Linked DNA regions of Homo sapiens: regions 2, 3, 4, 5, 6 and 7 are each linked to region 1. Evidence: promoter capture Hi-C in 16 types of primary human blood cells and fetal thymus (Javierre and others, 2016). All regions are on one chromosome and are shown on one strand. Each heading gives the region's core, a stretch centred on a gene start or on the middle of the fragment in contact. The rest is flanking DNA. Distances are from core to core; before and after follow the strand shown.

What was found. Contacts are between HindIII fragments. The CHiCAGO score rates a contact against its expected background, and 5 or more counts as called.
Region 2: a fragment that was not itself captured here is called in contact with the fragment with the promoter of CUL3 in region 1 in 1 of 17 cell types (naive CD8 T cells); the score reaches 5.1 in naive CD8 T cells.
Region 3: a contact is called between a fragment that was not itself captured here and the fragment with the promoter of CUL3 in region 1, in 1 of 17 cell types (non-activated CD4 T cells). The highest score is 6.0, in non-activated CD4 T cells.
Region 4: a fragment that was not itself captured here is called in contact with the fragment with the promoter of CUL3 in region 1 in 4 of 17 cell types (non-activated CD4 T cells, fetal thymus, naive CD8 T cells and 1 more); the score reaches 6.4 in non-activated CD4 T cells.
Region 5: a contact is called between a fragment that was not itself captured here and the fragment with the promoter of CUL3 in region 1, in 1 of 17 cell types (fetal thymus). The highest score is 6.0, in fetal thymus.
Region 6: a fragment that was not itself captured here is called in contact with the fragment with the promoter of CUL3 in region 1 in 1 of 17 cell types (non-activated CD4 T cells); the score reaches 9.0 in non-activated CD4 T cells.
Region 7: a fragment that was not itself captured here is called in contact with the fragment with the promoter of CUL3 in region 1 in 4 of 17 cell types (naive CD8 T cells, non-activated CD4 T cells, naive CD4 T cells and 1 more); the score reaches 8.1 in naive CD8 T cells.

The regions. Positions count from the first base shown.
Region 1 is chr2:224,583,993-224,586,692 of GRCh38, forward strand. CUL3 (cullin 3) reads right to left here and starts at 1,371. Exons shown (of 16, transcript NM_003590.5): 1 at 952-1,371. The coding sequence starts at 1,017. RefSeq lists silencers at 835-1,094, 1,425-1,844. The HindIII fragment of the contact is 1,789 bases long and covers 356-2,144 here.
Region 2 is chr2:226,808,220-226,810,919 of GRCh38, forward strand. It overlaps a transcript of RHBDD1 not described here. Among named protein-coding and RNA genes, the nearest start is that of IRS1, 9.8 kb to the left of the region's middle. The HindIII fragment of the contact is 6,682 bases long and covers 1-2,700 here.
Region 3 is chr2:227,332,135-227,334,860 of GRCh38, forward strand. It overlaps MFF (mitochondrial fission factor), which reads left to right. Exons shown (of 9, transcript NM_001277062.2): 4 at 285-454. Among named protein-coding and RNA genes, the nearest start is that of MFF, 8.2 kb to the left of the region's middle. The HindIII fragment of the contact is 1,684 bases long and covers 556-2,239 here.
Region 4 is chr2:227,473,672-227,476,371 of GRCh38, forward strand. The region is part of intron 1 of AGFG1 (ArfGAP with FG repeats 1); the gene reads left to right. Among named protein-coding and RNA genes, the nearest start is that of AGFG1, 2.9 kb to the left of the region's middle. The HindIII fragment of the contact is 3,002 bases long and covers 1-2,700 here.
Region 5 is chr2:226,982,933-226,985,632 of GRCh38, forward strand. The region is part of intron 8 of RHBDD1 (rhomboid domain containing 1); the gene reads left to right. It also overlaps a transcript of COL4A4 not described here. Among named protein-coding and RNA genes, the nearest start is that of RHBDD1, 150 kb to the left of the region's middle. The HindIII fragment of the contact is 3,318 bases long and covers 1-2,700 here.
Region 6 is chr2:226,845,465-226,848,164 of GRCh38, forward strand. All of the region lies in intron 3 of RHBDD1 (rhomboid domain containing 1), which reads left to right. Among named protein-coding and RNA genes, the nearest start is that of RHBDD1, 11 kb to the left of the region's middle. The HindIII fragment of the contact is 1,576 bases long and covers 463-2,038 here.
Region 7 is chr2:226,786,551-226,789,250 of GRCh38, forward strand. The region is part of intron 1 of IRS1 (insulin receptor substrate 1); the gene reads right to left. Among named protein-coding and RNA genes, the nearest start is that of IRS1, 12 kb to the right of the region's middle. The HindIII fragment of the contact is 1,475 bases long and covers 678-2,152 here.

The DNA of each region.
Region 1 (2,700 bases), core at 121-2,620:
ATTGTAGCGACATAGGCAAGTATGCCCAGTTCGTTAACAGTACATTTTAATTGCTTGCCACGGGGAAGCTGAACCAGATTTGACACCCAAAGTTATATCCTATATACTAAACATCGCAAGGGTACGACTCAACGTAATGCCAAAAAAGAAAAAGTTTCTGAGCAGAACACGTTTGCTGTCACTGAAAGCGATGAAACAAAGCTACTCCGCAAGGCGACTACACTCATTCTTTGGGCTCCCAAGGCTGAGAAATGGAGAACCAATTGGCCGGTTTGCTCTCTGTTGCTTCCCCCCCACCCGGCCTTCCTCCGAGTGGCGAGGCAATCCTGCACAAGAGTTTGTAAAGTGCTTAGGAAGCTTGTAGGATGAAAGACGCTATAAATACACCCAATGTTACTAGTTTATGACCACGGAGCATTCCGTGGAACCACTGTCACTGCGTCGGGGGCAGGTTGATGGCATAGACCTTCCTGGGGAGGGGGGCAGAGAGAGAGGGCAGCCCCTTCATCACCCTAAAAGCTAGGCTGGGTAAATTTTCAAAGTGTAGCGAAACCCCACGTGAAAAGTTCCACACACGCCCCACACAGGGAGGACTCCGCGGCTGCTAGCAGCGCCGGAGACTGGGCCTACAACCCCGGCAACGTGGGGAGGCGTGGGGCGGCCGAGGGGCCCCGGCCGCAGCCGACGCCCGCGGAGCGGCTGAAGGAGCAGCTCCCGGACGGGGGCGCGGCGCCAGGCCCGGGCTCCCGGCGCGGGGAACGGCCCGGGAGGGCGGCCGCGCCGGGGCCCCGCGCCGCCCGGTTGCCGGGAAGGCTCGCGCCCCGCGGCCGGCGGGCGTGGGGGAGGGGAGGCCGGGCCTGCGGCCTGTTGGGGGACTTCAGCCCGGGCCTCGCGTGCGGCTCTCGGCCCGGCCCCCGGCCCCGGGGTCCCGGACGCCGAGGAGAGACTCACCGGAAAGGCCCGGATCCGCATCTTGGTGTCCTTCCGGCTGCCCGTGCCTTTGCTCAGATTCGACATGGTGCTCGTCCCCTCCCCGGCGGCGGCTTCAGGTCGCGCTCCGCGACGCCGGTGTCACATTTAAGGCGGGCAGGCAGGCTAGGGGCGACGCTGGGGGCGGCGGCGGCGCGACCCCCGGGCAGGGCTGGGGAGCTGGCCGGCCCCTGGGCAGCCGCGGCGGCGGCGGGGGCGGCGGCGGCGGCGGCGGCGGCTCGGACTCTGGCGACTCCGATGCGGCTGGGGGGCTGCGCTGGCGCGGCGGCTCCGCGGGGTCCCCCTCACGTCCGGCTCGGCTCCCTTTATCGCGCTCCTCCGCGATGGCGGCGGCGGCGGCGACGGACAAACATCTCACTGCGCAGGCCGAACGTCGTCCTCCTCCTCCTCCTTCTCCTCCTCCGCCTGAGCGAGACGAGATCCGGCCCAGAGGGTGGAGGGGGGAGGAGGGAGGGAGGAGAGCCGGAGAGTGAGAGATGCCGGGGGAGGGAGGTGGGAGGACGGGAGGGGGAGCCCGGCGGCCGCCGCGGGGGACGCTCAGATCTCGCGAGAAGAGGGCGAGCGCGCTGCCCCCCTGGTGGGCGGGGCGAAGCCCGGGAGAGGGTGGGCGCCACCGGAGGGGAGGAGGGGAACAGGGAACTGAAGGAAGTGGGAGGGGCCGGCGGGGCGGGGAAGCGGAAAGGGGGCGTGGCTGAGGGCGGGAGGATTAAGCTGCCTTTTTGAAAGTGGAGCGCCAGGTCCCGGGTTCTGGGTGGAGGTGGTTGCTGATTGGTGGAGCTCGGAGCGGCGGTTGGGAGGGTCCTGGTCACATGGTGGGGAGTGGGAGGGGGGAAGTTCGGAGAGCGGGAGCGGGATGGTAGTGGGCTGGGCCCCACTGGGCTGGGACAGCAGGAGGATAGTCTTGAGGAGGAGCGTGGGGTGCTAGATGTGTAACTACGTCCCGAACTGGTTCCTGTGTTTTTCTAGGGCATGTGGACTAGGGATGGGTACTTGAGTAGAAGCCTGCAACTTGAAGAGTTTGTGCAGGAGTTAGCTGCAGTGTCGGAAATTAGTGTCCTGTATGCTCAACAAGGTATTCGGACTGGGTGTGCACACCACAGCTCTCAGGACTGGAAGGTGGAAATTTAATCTACGAAGTTCCCTTAAACTGCATAAGCTTCGGGACCTCTTGATTCACTGATATTTTCTGGTGGACCCAGGGCTTATTCATGTTAAAACCTGTTTTTCATTACCATCAGAATAAACTGACAGCTCCATTAATGAAATGCAGCATTTGGTAAATAATGTTAAGTGGAATGATAGAAACCTATCTTTAACCTACCGGATAAATCATTTCTACCATTACCAAGAGTATTGTAGATTTTTAAAGCCAAAATTACCGTCTGATTCAGTTGCTGTATATTTGAAAAGGTTTTGGCTTTTGGTTTTGGAGGAGAGGCGTTTGGTCGCTTTATAGTCAAAATGTCTAATTTGACTTATCGGTTTTGCTGTCCATTTGTTATGAATTGTACTTCCTCATTTACCTACTTGCCCAATTGCTGTTATGTTTGGGTTTCTGACTCTGCAAGGGAATACGTGAGTTCTTATTAAAGTTTGTGTTCTTCCTATTTTAAAGAAGCATATGTTTGGGGGATGGATATCTACATTTAGAAGCTGGAATTTTAATACTTTTAAATAGCAAACAATATAAAGTGAAATACACTTATTTGT
Region 2 (2,700 bases), core at 197-2,696, 2.2 Mb after region 1:
TGACATGGAAGAAAAAGAATGTAGGATGACTCCAAGGTTTTTTTTACTTGTACAACTGAAAAGATAAAATCACCATCAACTGAGACAATGTATCAGTTTTCTATGGCTGGGTTAAGAAACTACTCTAAAGGAATAATTATGAAACATCAACTCTTTTATTATGCTCTAGGATTCTATGGGCCAGGAATTCAGACAGGGCACAGTGTTGATGGCTTGTCTGTGTCCTGGCTGGGATGGCTCAAATGGTTGTGGGACTATTTGACTTGAAAGGCTGGAGCCTGGAATCATTTGAAACATTGTTCACTCATGTGTCTGGCACCTGCGTTAGAATGACTGAAGGCTACATCAACTAGAGTACTTACATCCGGTCTCTCCATGTGACTTGGACTTTTCACAGCGTGGAGGCTGGATTTCAAAGGTGAGTGTCTGAAGAGAGACCATCTCGAGAGTTAACATGCCAAGAGGGAGCTTCTAGAGAGGAGGTGTTCCAAGAGAATCAGACAGAAATTGTGTAGCCTTTTATGACCTTACCTCAGAAGTCAGAGCTTCATTTCTACTGTATGTATCCTATTGATCAAAGTAGACATGAGCCCACCCAGATAAAAGGGCAGGGAACCTAGACCACAGTTCTTGATGGAAGTAGTGTCAAAAAAAAAAAAACTTGTAGTCATTGTTTTAAACTACCACAGATTGAAATACTGTGGCTGAACAGGAATGGGGAAGATGGGGGAAGATCAGGAGTTTGGTTCTAGACATGCTGAGTTTCAGGTGCTTATTGATCCTCCGAGTGGAGATATCAAGTAGGCATTTGTGTATATAAACCAGAGTTGAAAAGATGAGTCTGGGCTTAGGTATAAATGTAAAGGTTGTCAGCCTATGAGTAGGATTTAAAGCCCATGATACTGGATAAAATCATCAAGAAAGAGAAAGTAGATAGACAAAAGAAGAGGACAAAGATGCCAGCAAGGGAGACAGAAGAACAACCAGTAAAGTTGCTCTCTTTTAGGCAGGAAGACACCATATCAGGAAAAAGAGAGTGAACAACTGAGTCAATTGCTGCTGATGGTCAAGTCAGAAGAAGACTTGGAATTAACATAAGATCTAGCATCATGTTTGTGTTATGTATAAGATATTAACATTGATTGCAGATGCCCACAATGTTTATGATCTGACTGAATTCTTTAGTGGAATCACAAAAGTTCAACATACTCAGATGTGTACAGTAGGTTAGTAGAGTTTGTAGGGATAATTATGGCAACATATTTTATATTTCCTAAATAACTTTAACTTGAAAAATTCCTATGAGGACAGAGATACTAAAGTACAGTGGATGCTATGTTTAGTCTCACTATGCAATTTAGTCTTGTCTCTAAGATTAGACTTCTAAACATTCTTAAGATTTTGAGAAAGAGAGGGAGAGAGAGAGACACTCATATTAATAGGAAAAATTGCCAAGATATGTCCTAATTTTTAAACCAAATATTTTAAAATATTTTAGACAAAAGTTTATATCTAGGAATCTACTTCTAGATTTATTAGTCTTTACTGATTTAAAACTTTACAAAATAACAAATAATAGCTTTCACCTTTTTAAAAACTATTTTAAAAGACTAATGTAAGGTAATTTACTGCAAAAGACAAATATCAATACCAACACCTAGTTTTAAGTTGGAAAATGTGAAATAAAATCTTATGTAAAATACATCAATACCCAACAATATAATAATAATGTAACATAAAATTACCATGTCATTGGTGGGACACACAATTTACTAAAGTGTAAAAACCATAACATAACTCTTGGAATCTCTATAGAACTACAAAATATAGTTGATGCTTGAACAATGCAGGCATTAGGAGTGGCAACTCCACAAAGTTGAAAATCTGCATATAACTTTAGACTCTCCAAAAACTTAACTTCTAATAGCCTACCATTGACCAGAAACTTTACTGATAATGCAGTAGATTATCACATATTTTGTATCTGCATTATATACTGTATTTTTAAAATAAAATAATCTAGAGAAAAGTGAGTATTGACGGGGCATGGTGGCTCATGCCTGTAATCCTAGCATTTTGGAAGGCTGAGGTGGGTGGAACACCTAAGGTCAGGAATTCGAGATCAGCCTGGCCAACATGACAAAATCCCGTCTCTACTAAAAATATAAAAATTAGCTGGGTGTGGTGTCAGGCACCTATAATCTCAGCTACTTGTGAGGCTGAGGCAGGAGAATCGCTTGAACCCAGGGAGGTGGAAGTTTCAGTGAGCCGAGATCACACCACTTCACTCCAGCCTGAGCAAAAGAGCAAGACTCCGTCTCAAAAAAAAAAAAAAAAAAAAAAAAAGTGAATGTTAAGAGAATCATAAGGAAAAGAAAATATATTTACTACTCATTAAGTGAAAGTGGAGCATCCTAAAGATCTTCATCCTCATCATTTCCAGATTGAGTAGGCTAAGGAGGGGGAAGAAGAAGAGGGCTTGGTCTTGCTGTCTCAGTGGAGGCAGAGGCATAAGAAAAACGTGGATAAATGGATCCATGCAGTTCAAACCCCTGTTGTTCAAGGGCCAGCTGTATGCTTAAACACATCCCTGGGGGTTGTAAAACTAATGTTACTGTTGTTTTCATTTTGCAATTTTTCCATCTTGATATAAAAGCAAAAGTAAAGCTAATCTATGTACAATTTATTATAGGTCAACTG
Region 3 (2,726 bases), core at 148-2,647, 2.7 Mb after region 1:
CTAATTTTTTTGTATTTTTAGTAGAGACGGGGTTTCACCGTTTTAGCCGGGATGGTCTCGATCTCTTGACCTCGTGATCCGCCCGCCTCGGCCTCCCAAAGTGCTGGGATTACAGGCGTGAGCCACCGCGCCCGGCCTGGAAGCATATTTTGAAAGAAACTAATGCTTATTGGGTGGTATAATTCAAAAGCAGAAGAAGGTAAATACATTTTAACAAAAATCACTGTCTTTTTAAAAAACCTCCCGCTTTTCTCTTCTTTGTCTCTTTTCTTGAAAACTCCTAGGAAATAATGAAGATGTTTCATTTTCAAGACCAGCAGATCTTGACCTTATTCAGTCAACTCCCTTTAAACCCCTGGCACTGAAAACACCACCTCGTGTACTTACGCTGAGTGAAAGACCACTAGATTTTCTGGATTTAGAAAGACCTCCTACAACCCCTCAAAATGAAGAAGTAAGTAGAACTTTAGTATCACCGGAATTTGAAATAATGTAGACAAAGGTAAAAGAGAAGAGCAAAGAGGCTTTATCATATCTTTAGCAATATGTCATGAAAGCTTTCCATATGGAACATTACTAATAATTCTAATTTACAAATGTGCCAAATAAGTTATTATGCTATTTTTAAAATTTGAATATTATGTTTTAGGAAAAATGTAAGTTTTGTGGTAAGTATTATTAAGTTCCTGTGGTTTGAAGAAAGAGCCTTTATGGGTAGGTGTTACTTGTTAAATAATAAGAAAATGTTGGGAAGTTTAGCAATAAGAAGTAAATGTATCACTTTGTTATAAAATCAGTCTAGCAAACAGGGCAAAGAAAACCCTTTTTCGCTTGACACTACCCATTCTCGCTACTTGATTAAAAGTTTCTACTGAGCTACTCTACTGCATCACGTTAATGTGCCAGTTGACCTAAATGTAGCAGTGTAGACTAACAAGGTGTTAGTAACAGAGTTCGAATCCTGCCTTTGTCATTGACTTACAGCTAACCTTTGAAGCTGCTTTGCCGTGATGATTGCTGGGGTTACATCTTTTTCATATAGCTTTTGAACTTCTAACATGTTGTCATGAAGCTAGTATGAGACAATGTGCAAACATATGTTTTTATTAATAATGGTACTGCTTGTGTCTGGTTTCATTTTGCATGTAATACTTTCCAAAGAGGGTAAAGCACCCATACTGTCTAGGGCAATGCAATTTTCTAGGATTAGGTTCTTAGATTGTAAGTTTCTGCTGACATAATTGAGGTAATATGCTCACAGTTAGTTTGGATATTCTAGGTATTTGGTGAAAAGCACTAAATCTGAGCCTTTACATGACAGAAAGGCACTAACATACTTGCAGAATTGTATTATTTAACAAACATTTTTTAACTTTTATCTCTGAGATACTATATGCAGTATAGGAATTAATGAGACATAGTTCCTGCATTCAAAAAGTTTGCTGTCTGTCTGGTTTCAGCAGGACAATGATATGAGTGAGGGAAAGACATCAACGCATGCAGAAGATACAAAATTCTTTAATAGCAGAAAATAATGAAAGTTACCAAGATGGTTACATAAAACAAAAGTATCCAGTGTGCTCCCAGTTTAAGGCCCAGCTTTCTAACTCCCCAAAGTTCCTTGGGAATTATACCTGTGAAAATAATTGTCTTACAGTGACGATTTTGCCAGGAAAGAAATGCTCCTTATTGTATTCTTCGGGTTTTTCTGTTGGTCTTTCTGCTTCTCCTAATTGAAAGCAACCCAAGCAATTCCCTGATTGATTATTTTAAGAGTGAGTGAAGAAAGTTTGCCGGGATTTCCCTCAGTAGACCCAGGCTTTAAGACTCTACGGGGTTCATTCCTGCATTAATTGTGATATTTAGTCAAATGTGATAGATGTTCAGAGTGTATAACACTGGGGTAAAAAAGTTTGTGTGAGAATTAGAACTAATTTTGAAGACCTACTTTGCCATTTACTAACCACATAACTTTGGGCAAGTTATTTAACAGTTCTAGGGCGTATCTCTGAAATAAAGATAAGAATAATGCCAAGTGCATGAGATTGTTATGAGAATTAAATGTAATCATGCATGTTCTAATTCGTGTTAAAAGCTCAATATATATAAATGTTATTGTTAGGAGAGACTTAAAATCCTGTGGCAGGAGCCAGATCCTGAAATGAAAGACGAGTTTCTGAGATTAATACCAGCTGCTTATTGAAAGCAAAGATGATGGTTTGGACTTCAAGTTTATACAAGCTTATAGAAGGGTCCAGTAGCCTTCAAGAAGCACTCAACTGCAGTGAGCAAGGGAGGAAGGGGTAAGGGAGCCAGGGTTCTAGTAGCTTCTAGAAATTGACTGAAATAGAGAAGCAGTAAGGGCCTGAGTACTGATAACATTGATGATTCATTCAGGTGTTAACTCAGAATCGATAAAGTGAGATCCCCAGAACATTTGCTCTGTATCATTCTGCAGTGGATGCTAGAATGAGGTAGAGCAATAGTGCTCTACCTCAGCACTGTTGGCATTTTGGACTGGAAAATTCCTTGTTGTGGTGAGAGCCACCTTTTTGCACTGTAGAATGTTTGCAACATTTGTGATCTCTATCTACAAGATGCCATTACCGTCTTCCAAGTCATGATATCCAAAAATGTCTGTAATAGCAAAAAGGTGGAAGCAAGTAAAATATCCATCAGCTGATGAATGGATAAGCAAAACATCATCTAGCCATATAGTAACTCTT
Region 4 (2,700 bases), core at 133-2,632, 2.9 Mb after region 1:
GTGGCAGTTACTAAGTATTTTTAAAACCTTTGCTTGTAAGATTAATACAAAGCACATAATACTTTATGTGGGAAAATTGATTTCTTAAAACTTAGAAAATGCAGAACATGTCTAGTATGTACTATTTGCTTTTTAAAGTTGGGCAAAGAGGCATTATTAGTATTACATGAGTGTTATTTCTTCAGCAGACATTTTTTTTGGTGCCTATTAGGTTGTGTAAGGCCCTGGGGTGTGCCAGTAAATATAGCAAAGTCTTGTTCTCTTGGTTCTTACAGTCCAGTGGGGATGCAAAAGTAAGAAAAATGTCTTGGGCAAGTACTATGCTGAACATGAAAATTGTTTGATAGGAGAGTGCTCATGGTTACTTTTAGGCTGTGTGGCCAGGGAGACACTCTGAGAAGTTGCCAGTTAATAATATTCTCGAATTACTACAGAATCACAGAGCTAGGTGATATCAAGGAGGTAGCCTGGTTCATGCATTTCATTTACAGAAAAAGGAGTTAAGCTAGAAAGTTGTTACTTACGTTGGACAATATTGGTTCCAAAATGAAGCCAATAGAACAATTGTAATTGTATTTGATTTTTATTACATGGTTAAGATGTATGTCCTGCTTTTACTAAACACAGGTCCTTTAATCCATGTAAAGTATTTGATTTGGAAAAAATACATATATTTACACTTCCGGATTTCTGACATTTCTGTGTAGTCCCTGTAAGTACAGCAGCAAATGTGTAATATCAAGGACATATTTTCAAATTTCTTCCTAGATACCACATTTCAGAAACATTGTGCATAAAAGGATATCTCAGTATAATGACAATTATTTATCTTAATGGAACTTAATCTGTGGCAGATAGGACTTCATTTCTCTATTGAGTCATTCCACAAATATTTATTGCCTACTTGTCCTGTGTCATAAGTTACCTGGATCTTAACTGTTCTATGGAGCGTGCCTTGTAAGTATGTAAACGTAGAGTTACAATATATTGTAGTATTTCCTTTCTGTGAATGAGATAGCCAGGAAATATGTAAATGATACAGCTTCTCTGGGAGTTGATGCCTGAGCAAAGACCTTTAACGAGAAATTCTGCTTCATATGTTTGAAAGATCAAGTACTTATGAGCTAGGTACACATGGCTTTGAATCCTGACTCCAAGTATTAGTTATACGGTATTGAGAATGTCACTCAATCTATTTGAGCTTGATTTTTCTCTTATATGAAACAGTGAGGATAAGATTTCCCTTGTAAGTTTTGGATGTAGATTTGTTTTCAGTATTAAAAATAATGTATGTTAAACATCTCACGTAATGCCTGGTATATAGCAAGTGCCCTATAGATGAGAAGCATCAAGGAAGAGGACATGCCATGAGTAAGGGAACAGTACTGTATGTGAAAGATATTAAATAAGAAATATCCTAATAAAAATCTGTCACTTTGGATTTTATGGTTGTAACTCAAAACCGGAATCTAATTGGTTTAAAAATATGAAGGGTTTATTGATTGATTTTAAAGTAAAACTATACAGTGGCTTAATAATATTGCCTAGATTTTCCTCATTCGAGCATGGTTGTCCCCAGCTCCTGGGTATACTGCCTTAATTATGTCGTTGGTCCAATACTTTCAGAAGTTCTGCATTTCCCTCTGATTGGGTTAGCTTAGATCATGCCACAACTGGACACATGTTCTAACCTGACTTCATTGTCACAAGGATCCCCAAATAGAGTTCCCAAATCTGAAATCTAGAATTCTTGGGATGTAGGGAATGAAGACTAGAGTGGCAACCATCAAATGTCTACTGCAGAACGTTGGAGGGACAATAGCTTCTGAAGATTTTTTTCTTTGACAAGCAATAGTGCAGGAAAATAATTTAGGAAGAATAATATAACTCTTGGGTTTAATAATTATGTATCTGATGTTTAGATGACATGGTATAATTGAAAGAATATGAATTTTGAAGTCAGATTTTGACAATGCTACTAGCTTCGTGGCTTAGGGCAAGGTGTTATGCTAGGCCACTACATGCAGATTGGCCCAGATCCATCCTTGTAGCCTCAGTTTCTTTATTTATGTTAAGAAGATATCATATAGCTCAGGGTTGTTAAGAGGATTCAATGATACACATCGTTACTGTATTTACTTATTGAGCACATACCGTATTTGAGGATAGGGCTAAGCACTGGAGTTACAAATATTGAAATAAGGCATGCTAGCTGCCGTTCCTTGATTTACCTGGAAAATATGAATACATAGCAAATAGTATCCACTATCATGAATTCTAAATTTTAGGATAGTGACATACCTTCTATCATTTATACTAATACCTTTTTTTAAAATAAATTGAACTAGCATCTTGTTGTTAATGTTACTAGACTTGGAGCTAATCTTTCTTGTTTCTTTTTTTTCAGATGACTGTCCTATATGCTTGAATGATGTTCATTCAGAGTGTAACTGAATTTAGATTGTAAAACTTTAAAATGAACTTCAGAGTTAGATGCAGTTAAACTATTTGTTACTGAGGCAGAATGATGAAGGCATCCTAACTGATTGGTTTGTCACTATCTTTCACTGTCTTTCTGGTTGTATTTATGGAAATCCCTAAAATTCTGAATGGACACTTCAGACATTTAAAATATAGCCAACAGTAAAAATGGCCTTCATGTTAAATAACTTCTAGTTGATTTAAAGACTAGTTTTAGAC
Region 5 (2,700 bases), core at 66-2,565, 2.4 Mb after region 1:
GATAGCTGGGTTGCACTTTTATCTTTTAAAATCTACATCATCCAAGGTTGAGCATAGCATAACCTAGGAAACTACCAGTCTTTGACTCATAGTAAATGTCACCAGAAACCTACTTGTACTAAACCAAATGCCATGCTAGTGCAAATGGTCAAAGGCAAACATAACCACAGAACACACTATGGCATTCCTGTGATCAGAGTTTCTCAAAGTGGGGCATGTGGGCATCCAGCTCACTTGAGGTGCATGTTAAAAAATGCACATTTCTGGGTCCCCCAACAGACATTGATCTGGAATCTTCCATTAGAACCCTAGAATCTGCCTCTCACCAAGCTCCCCGACGTGGATTTGAGAATCACTGTTCTAAATCCAGCATCTAGTATTTAGCCCTTCGAAGCATGCTGTGTTTTCTGCGGGAATGTGGCACGGAAGTATTGGGTAGCTGTGGGACCTGGGGCCAGTTATGTGGTTCACTTTATTTGCTGCTAGTCAGTCAGGCCACCTAGCCTAGGGGCCAGCCACCTCAATCCATTTCTTTTCCCAGGCCCAACAGCCTTGTTTTACAAGACACATGGTTATCTGCAGTAGTTGTCCAGGGTGACCTAAACTTGACCACTCGGGGATGGTTGTTCTCAGCAGAAGTTGCCAACTTTTTGTCCCTTTTCAAAGTTCTTTTCCCACTGGCTTGTCTTTTTTTTTCCTTATTCCTTGAATGCTTGGGATGATGTTTACTTGTACTTTTTTTCACGTGCAAAGGTTAAGGAGTGTTTTAAGAAGATTGAGGTTTCTGAGGGAAATGTTGGCTAATTTCAAATGGTCTTTGATTTCAAAAGTCAATGAAAACATTCCCTTGATCCTTGGTTTGAAGGACTGGAAATTGGGCCATCTCTCTGGTTTGAAACTCAAGTGGAAGGGAGTGAGAAAAAAATAAAACAGGTCTAAATATTATCAAAAATGCTTCTTTATACCTTTAGCTGAACAGAAGATTTGAGAGCCTGGGCAAAACGCAATGGTGTGGGGGATCTTGTTATTTGTGAATGGAGGAACTGTCCCTGCTCGTATAGGAGGGTGAGCCATGCAGCTGGCATTGTGTCCCTTGGAGGGAGGGAGCTGCTGTCTCCGGCAATTATGAAGCCACCACTTAGGACAGAGTCCCAAGAAAGATGTGCTTTCTTCTCCACCAGAAAGCACATCTGTTCACCGCTCTGATCACTGGGGGTCTGCCCAGCAGCTGTGACAGCCAGCACCTGCTGAACTACCAGTTGCCAAGCTGCCAACTTCAAAGATGCTGTCTTAGTCAGTTTAGGCCACCTTAACAAAATACTACCATGGACCCGGTGGCTTAAACAACAGAAATTTATTTCTCACGGTTCTGGAGGCTAGAAGTTCCAGGTACTAATATGATCAGGTTATAGTGGGGTCCCTCTTCCTGGATTATAGATGGCTGCCTTCTCACTGTGACCTCACATTGGCAGAGAGTGCAAGCTCTGGCCTCTTCATTCCCTGATAAGTTTACCAATGCCATCACGGGGGCTCCACCCTCATGTCCTCATGTAAACCTAATTACCTCCCAAAGGCCCCACCTCCACATGCCATCACATTGAGGGTTTGGACTTCAACGTATGGATTTTGAGGGAACACAAATATTGAGTCCATGACAGCCTTCGTGACCTCTCTGAGCCTAGGCGGACCAGGCAGAACAGCAACAGCTAACGCCCTGGGGTCGTAGGCTAAGGAATTAGAAATATTCTCCTGAAAGGAACCACTGGTGCTGGAGACTTTTGCAGATTCCTAGAACTCATGGAATACTCAATTTATAAGCCCTGGTCTTGTACATTCACTCAGTGCTAGGCCAGAGAAACCCCCAAGTCAAACCAAGTTCTGAGTGTCCTTAGACAGCAGTGTGCACTCTGAACCAGGCATCAGGCACAGTCAGAATGAGAGCTAGATGGGCCTTTTATCTCACTTCCGCCCTTCTGATGCTCTCCTGGGGGTTGGGGTGGGGGAGGGGGAGGAGGGGCAGAAGCAAAGAGGAGGATTGGGGGCAAGTACAAGTGGGGGGTTTGAGTGAAAATGTGAGCCAGTAACCAGTACCACCTGATTAGGCCTAACATAGATCATTTTGAGTATTACTGCATCCAGGATTGATTGTCTTATTACCATAGATTATGTCTGTTTATCTCCTCTGATTTGGAGTTAGCATATTTAGGAGGCTCCGGATCATTCCTGCAAAGCACTCACTAACACGAGGCAGCATGCACAATAGCAGGAGGAAATTCAGGATTAGAACTGGTTAAACTATCTACATTCATATCCATATCTGTATCTATATCTCTCCCAGTGCCTTGTCAGTCTCCTCTGCTCTGGAAGAATTCTGATATGACATAGAAACTGCTAGATGCTGGCAAATAACTCCTGGGTTTCGGGCCATCTAGACAATAAACAACTCCATAATATTCAATGCAGCAGCCTCTGTAGCGCCCATCTGTTTCAAAATAACCCTAATTCTGCTTACGATGCGGAATGCTTTGTTGACTGGAATTTGTCCTAGTTTTCTTCAGCAGATTTAATGTCATAGGCCTCTGGTTCCACCTGCTGGCAGATATAAATACCAGAATGAAACTCGGGTGGATATGTTCAGTTGCAAGAAAAATCCGAGCTGTAGCTCAATGGTTCTCAAAGGCTGATGTACATCGGAGTCAC
Region 6 (2,700 bases), core at 1-2,500, 2.3 Mb after region 1:
CTTAACTGCTGTCCTATGCTGCATATGTTAATATTGCCACCCTTGTATATAATTTTGGCAAAAAGCACTGGGACATTTCTTTTCCCAAAGCCCATCTCTTTACTTTCAGTTCCCTGACAACTTCTTTATATTCTGAAACTGTTAAAATGTGTTGTATTATCCATCATCTTGTGCTTCTGTTTGTTGGGAATGTGGCAACAGCTCCTGTATTGCAGCAGTGTGCCCTGTGAAGCCATTTGTTCTTTATGTCTTAGAGCAGCCTGACAGCCTTTCGTGTTAAATTCAGCAAGATTGCTTTTCATTTAACAAAGCTGAATGTTGCTTTCTAGGTGAAAAATAATTAAATGCTTTTAAAGATATATTTGATTAACAGGAAGCTGATCTGTGTAAATTAATTATAACCATAATGATGTCATAGCCTTGTCTTTTGTTATTAGCCAGGTAATTGACCAGAAGTTTAGAAGCTTATTGTAACTGACAGTTAGTAGTTTGACCTTGTGTGCTGTCTGAAAGTGAAACATGCACAATGAATGTAAATGCAATTTGTTCATTGAGCTGCATGTGCTGTCAGAACATCTGATCTTGGGTTCTTGTTTTTATTTTTCCATTATTTCTTTGTTGAAATTGGTGGTCAGGATTATATACTCACAGTGAATATTATATGTATTTATCTTACTAAAAGCATCTGGCCAAACGCAGTGTTGCTTGTGTCCTGGAATAACTATAATCAGACTTGAAACCTTGGCACATTTAAGACATGCAGTCAAATAAACAAATGCCAAAATTAAATGAATCTCATTTTTAAAGTTTGTATGAAGGATAGTAAAACAACTTTTGGTAGAGAAATCAGAAAAGGAAAAATAGGGGCATATTTGATAGAGAATTTATCCCCTCTAATTCTGATTTTTCTGAGAAAATTAAAAGCATTTGGTATTTTGAATATTTGAGTAATGAAAACTTCCAGCTTTTGTAGGTTTGATTAAAGAATGGAAGTGTAGGCCGCGTACAGTGTCTCACGCCTGTAATCCCAGCACTTTGGGAGGCTGAGGCAGGTGGATCACCTCAGGTCAGGAGTTAAAGACCAGCCTGGCCAACATGGTGAAACCTTGTCTCTACTAAAACTGCAAAAATTAACCAGGCATGGTGGCGGGTGCCTGTAGTCCCAGCTACTCAGGAGGCTGAGGCAGGAGAATTGCTTGAACCCGGGAGTGATTCAGCTCAGCAGTGAGCTGAAATCGTGCCATTGCACTCCAGCCTGGGCAACAAGATTGAAATGCCATCTCAAAAAAAAAAAAAAAAAAGGAAATGTAAGAGTAAAACATGGAGAACATGGAGTAGAAGTGGGATAATAATGAATGACAATCAGCCATTATTAAATGGTTAAAAAATATGTAAGTACTATATATGTAAGTAAATGTGGCATTTTACCTTCAAAAGTCCTGACCTTTGCTTGTGGAAGTAGTTGTCAGAATTGCAGCTTATGAATTTTTGTCAAGTAGTGGAAGGAGGGTTTTGTCAAGTAGTGAATGGAAAGTTGTTAACTGCACATGTGGATAGGTATAGCTCATAATGTACTCTGTGAACTGGGGTAACTGATAGATGTTTGAAATGTATAAAATTGTTCATTTTGTGAATTTCTGTGCAGTTTGCCTCAGCAGGGTGCAGTTTTCTGCATGCATCAAAAGTGAAATTTGCACTTCTGCTCAAATTATTCCCTAATATACAAGTTGCATTTGAGCAAATTTTTTCATTTCAAAACAAGCATTATAGTGGAGCAGAATGGAGCATACTAGTTACTTCTACTTCCCTAAACATTATCGTATTTTATGTCTCTATGGTAACAGCACATGCATGCTATTTTCTTTCTTTAAAATACCTTTCTTTCATCCACTTTTTATCTTTCAAAGCCTGGCTGGGGTGAAGAAACTTCCCTAAGGTCTTCTCTGAATTACATTGACTTAACATTTTCAATATTGACATATATTTTTATTATTTGCCCATTTCCAAAAAGTATCTGCTTTAGATGACATAAGACACAAGCTTGTAGTAAAGAAAGAAAACAGCAAACCCAAATGGTTGAGTGGCTCTCAGCAGAGGAAAGCATATTCATTTATTAGGCAAACTTAAGCTTTTTCTAGCTCTGATGAGATTTTGCATGAGAAACATTGTCTGAATGGTGCTTCACAACAATATGAAGATGATTCTTTGGGTGAGACCTATGTCAAGGCCTCTAATGTTAGATTATATCTGCAAACGTCATTCTACAAAGGCAAAATGACCTGAACTGACCATGCAGCTTTCAGTGATCTGGCAAAACACAGGGATAGTGATCCTTTATACTAGAAATTCTTAAAAGGTAGAAAAGCAGTTTTCGCCTCTCTGTGAATTCTCTCTCAGAGTAAACCTTGCTTTGCAGGGTAGGGCTTGGGGGTGAAGGAAAGCCAAGCATGGAACGCCTTGCAACTCCCCAATCCCCTAAAGTCCTCCCAGCCAGAATCCTAGCCAGCCAGATGCCTGGCCCTGGTAGGAGAAAGTTGGAGAAGGTATGGGTGCTTTTGTTCCTCAGCTTCTCTATTTATATAGAATACATTCTAAGATGAGAAAAATATAAATTTGAATTCTTGTTACTTTTTTAAAATCTTGATTTTTAAAACGGATTTTTTTTTAAGCTGTGACTGTGATAACAATTACCAAAAGAAG
Region 7 (2,700 bases), core at 165-2,664, 2.2 Mb after region 1:
AAAGATAAACAAAACCCAGCAGTGATGGTGGCCTATGAGAAACTGGGGACAAAGGTGGGAGGAAGCCTTATTTTTCACTCTCTACCTTAAAAAAAAAAAAACAAAAACAACAACAACAAAAAAAAACCAAAAAAAATTGGAAACTTACAGCATGTACATGTATCACCTATACAAAAATACAGAGAAAAAAATAGTGTGAAGAGACCCAGCAAGCTATTATAAAACTTGGTAGTCTAAAAAAAAAAAAAAAAACTTTTAAAACATGTTTCTGTAAGAGACTACCACAAACTTAAAAATAAACGTGACTGCATATCATCAAAACAGAGGGAGAAAAATCTCAAAAGCAATTATACTTGCAGCCAGAAGCAAGCAAGGAACCACAGTTCAAAGTGTTGGACCTTTTCTTCATTAAAAATAAAAACCACCCACCCAAAGGAAAAAAAAGAAAAAAGTCCTTGAATAACAAAGCTAAGATAGCAAGAAAAGACTTTAAAATTTATTTTGTAGCCCCCACTTTCCCCCCAGGTTTCCTAACACTGACCACCCCATAACAAGTCCACATTCAACCCCTCTTCATTTAACAGCTGGATGCCTCTTCTTCTGGTTGCTTTCACTGGGACTAAAGATCCAAAGCAAAGATATCTTTTTTCCTGCTTTTTGTCAATATTATGTTTGCAAGCTTAATATCCAAAAATGGGCCATTCTTCCAAATGAGAGTTCCTTCCTGATTATTTAGTATGCTGATGGTATTGTCAGACAGGAAGCCATGGTTAGAAAGATTCAGAAAAATACAAACCTTTAAGCTAGATGGGCACTTTTGCCCTTTAGGTTTATGAAAAATGCCAACTTTTGTGAACTACACAATCGGAATCTTGATTTGGTTTTCCCGGATAACTTATGTCATAAGAAATTTGGTAACTCCTTTGGTGATCTCCTCTCAGTACCATTTTTCCCTCCATTTCCATGAATCTACCTTCATCCCCTTTCAATAAAAGGTGTACTATTTGGAACATGATAGGTGCTCAATAGAGCTTACTGAGTAAAAGAAGGGGAGGGGAAGAACAAGAAAAAATGGCTTAGGGCCTATTTGACAAAAGCAGATAATTTATGTTAGGGTTGAGAAATGGGTGGTGGGCTTGAATAGTATTAAAGACAATTAAAGATCTTCTGATCTTCTGATTGTCCCCACAACCCCTAAAACTCAAGGGTAAACATAATTATTTTTCATATCCATAGAGCCCTCCAAATAATTTTTAAGTGAATAGGGACATGATGATTGGAGAAGATTAGATAAATTATAGTTGACTACTTAGCAATTACTCAATATTCCAGTGGCCTTTAACTAACTGCTAAATGTTTATAAATGTCTTTTATTATTTTGCTAGCTCACTTAGATCATATCCTTCCTAAAAGTAAAAATCATGACTTTCTGTGCAAAACATAATTTGTTTGCCACATTACATATATTCAAAAAAAAAAACGTCTCTTTGATCATTTCAACAAACGTGAGAAAACTTCTCAAGATTAAGTGATATTGTTCAGCAATATGACCTAAATATGTCAGGGAGGATCAGAGAACATGCATTAAAGTATTCTTTGGTCAACAATAAAAGTGGAGTGCAAGGATACATATGTAATATGCAATATTTATAAAACTTGGGATGGTAAAAAGGAATACAATGAATGCAATCCAACTCAGCTTACTCAATAAAACATTCCTGGTAGAGTAATAAAACCACAAAATCTCTACTCTGCTTTAAGAAAACTGCAACTAGAATCATAGTCTGACCCATGTATTCAACTCTACTGCCATTATCAATGGAAAATACAGAAAAAGGGTCAAAAAGCCTTTTCAACATAAATACATCTTTTTCAAAGCTCTATTATTCAAAGATCACTGGCTCACTGAATAAGCACAAATAACATTTATCCAACCAAATTTATTTCAACAAATAGATTATAGCAGAGCCTGCTGCAAGAATACTATTAAAATGGAAAGTGTTCCTTTTATCATACATGACAGTACCTTATACTTGTCCAATCCATCTTCTCCCTTTTTGTGAATTAAGAATGGGAGAGGTACTACCATTTCCAAAGTATAAGACAAAAATAGAAGCAAATAGATGATACTTACTAACCTATCTTCTTAAAAAGCTTTACAATAAATTTTTGTAACTATGTCATATTAGTTTGAAATTAGTATGCAATTATTATATCATACTAACGTTAAAATGTAATTTTAAGTTAAAATTCAATATGATTACACTTTCTGAACATGTTTCAATAACATTTTAAAGACAGCTCTCAAAGTCTGCTGCATAGCTATGGACTAATAAGGTAACGAAGGAATAAATCAGTTACATAATTATAAATGTGGTAGAGGCAGGATCTATTATTTTACATGCAAAAAAATACTAGTATGAAAAAAAGTTACAGGATCTTTAGTGTGAAACTGGCTTCAAGCATGATTCACAAGAAGCTATTTTCCTTGAATACAATTTCCAGTAACTTTGTAACATGAGGAAATAATTGAGGAAATGGCTTTCTTTAAAACAAAACAAAACCTTAAAACTGTGAAATGTTCCAATATACTAAATTACCAACCCATCAAAATAAAAGGAACCATTTATATACTATTCAGCTAAGACACATATCTGATTATAGTGAGAGGATTGGAAAAGCATAAGTCCGTGGAGTTTC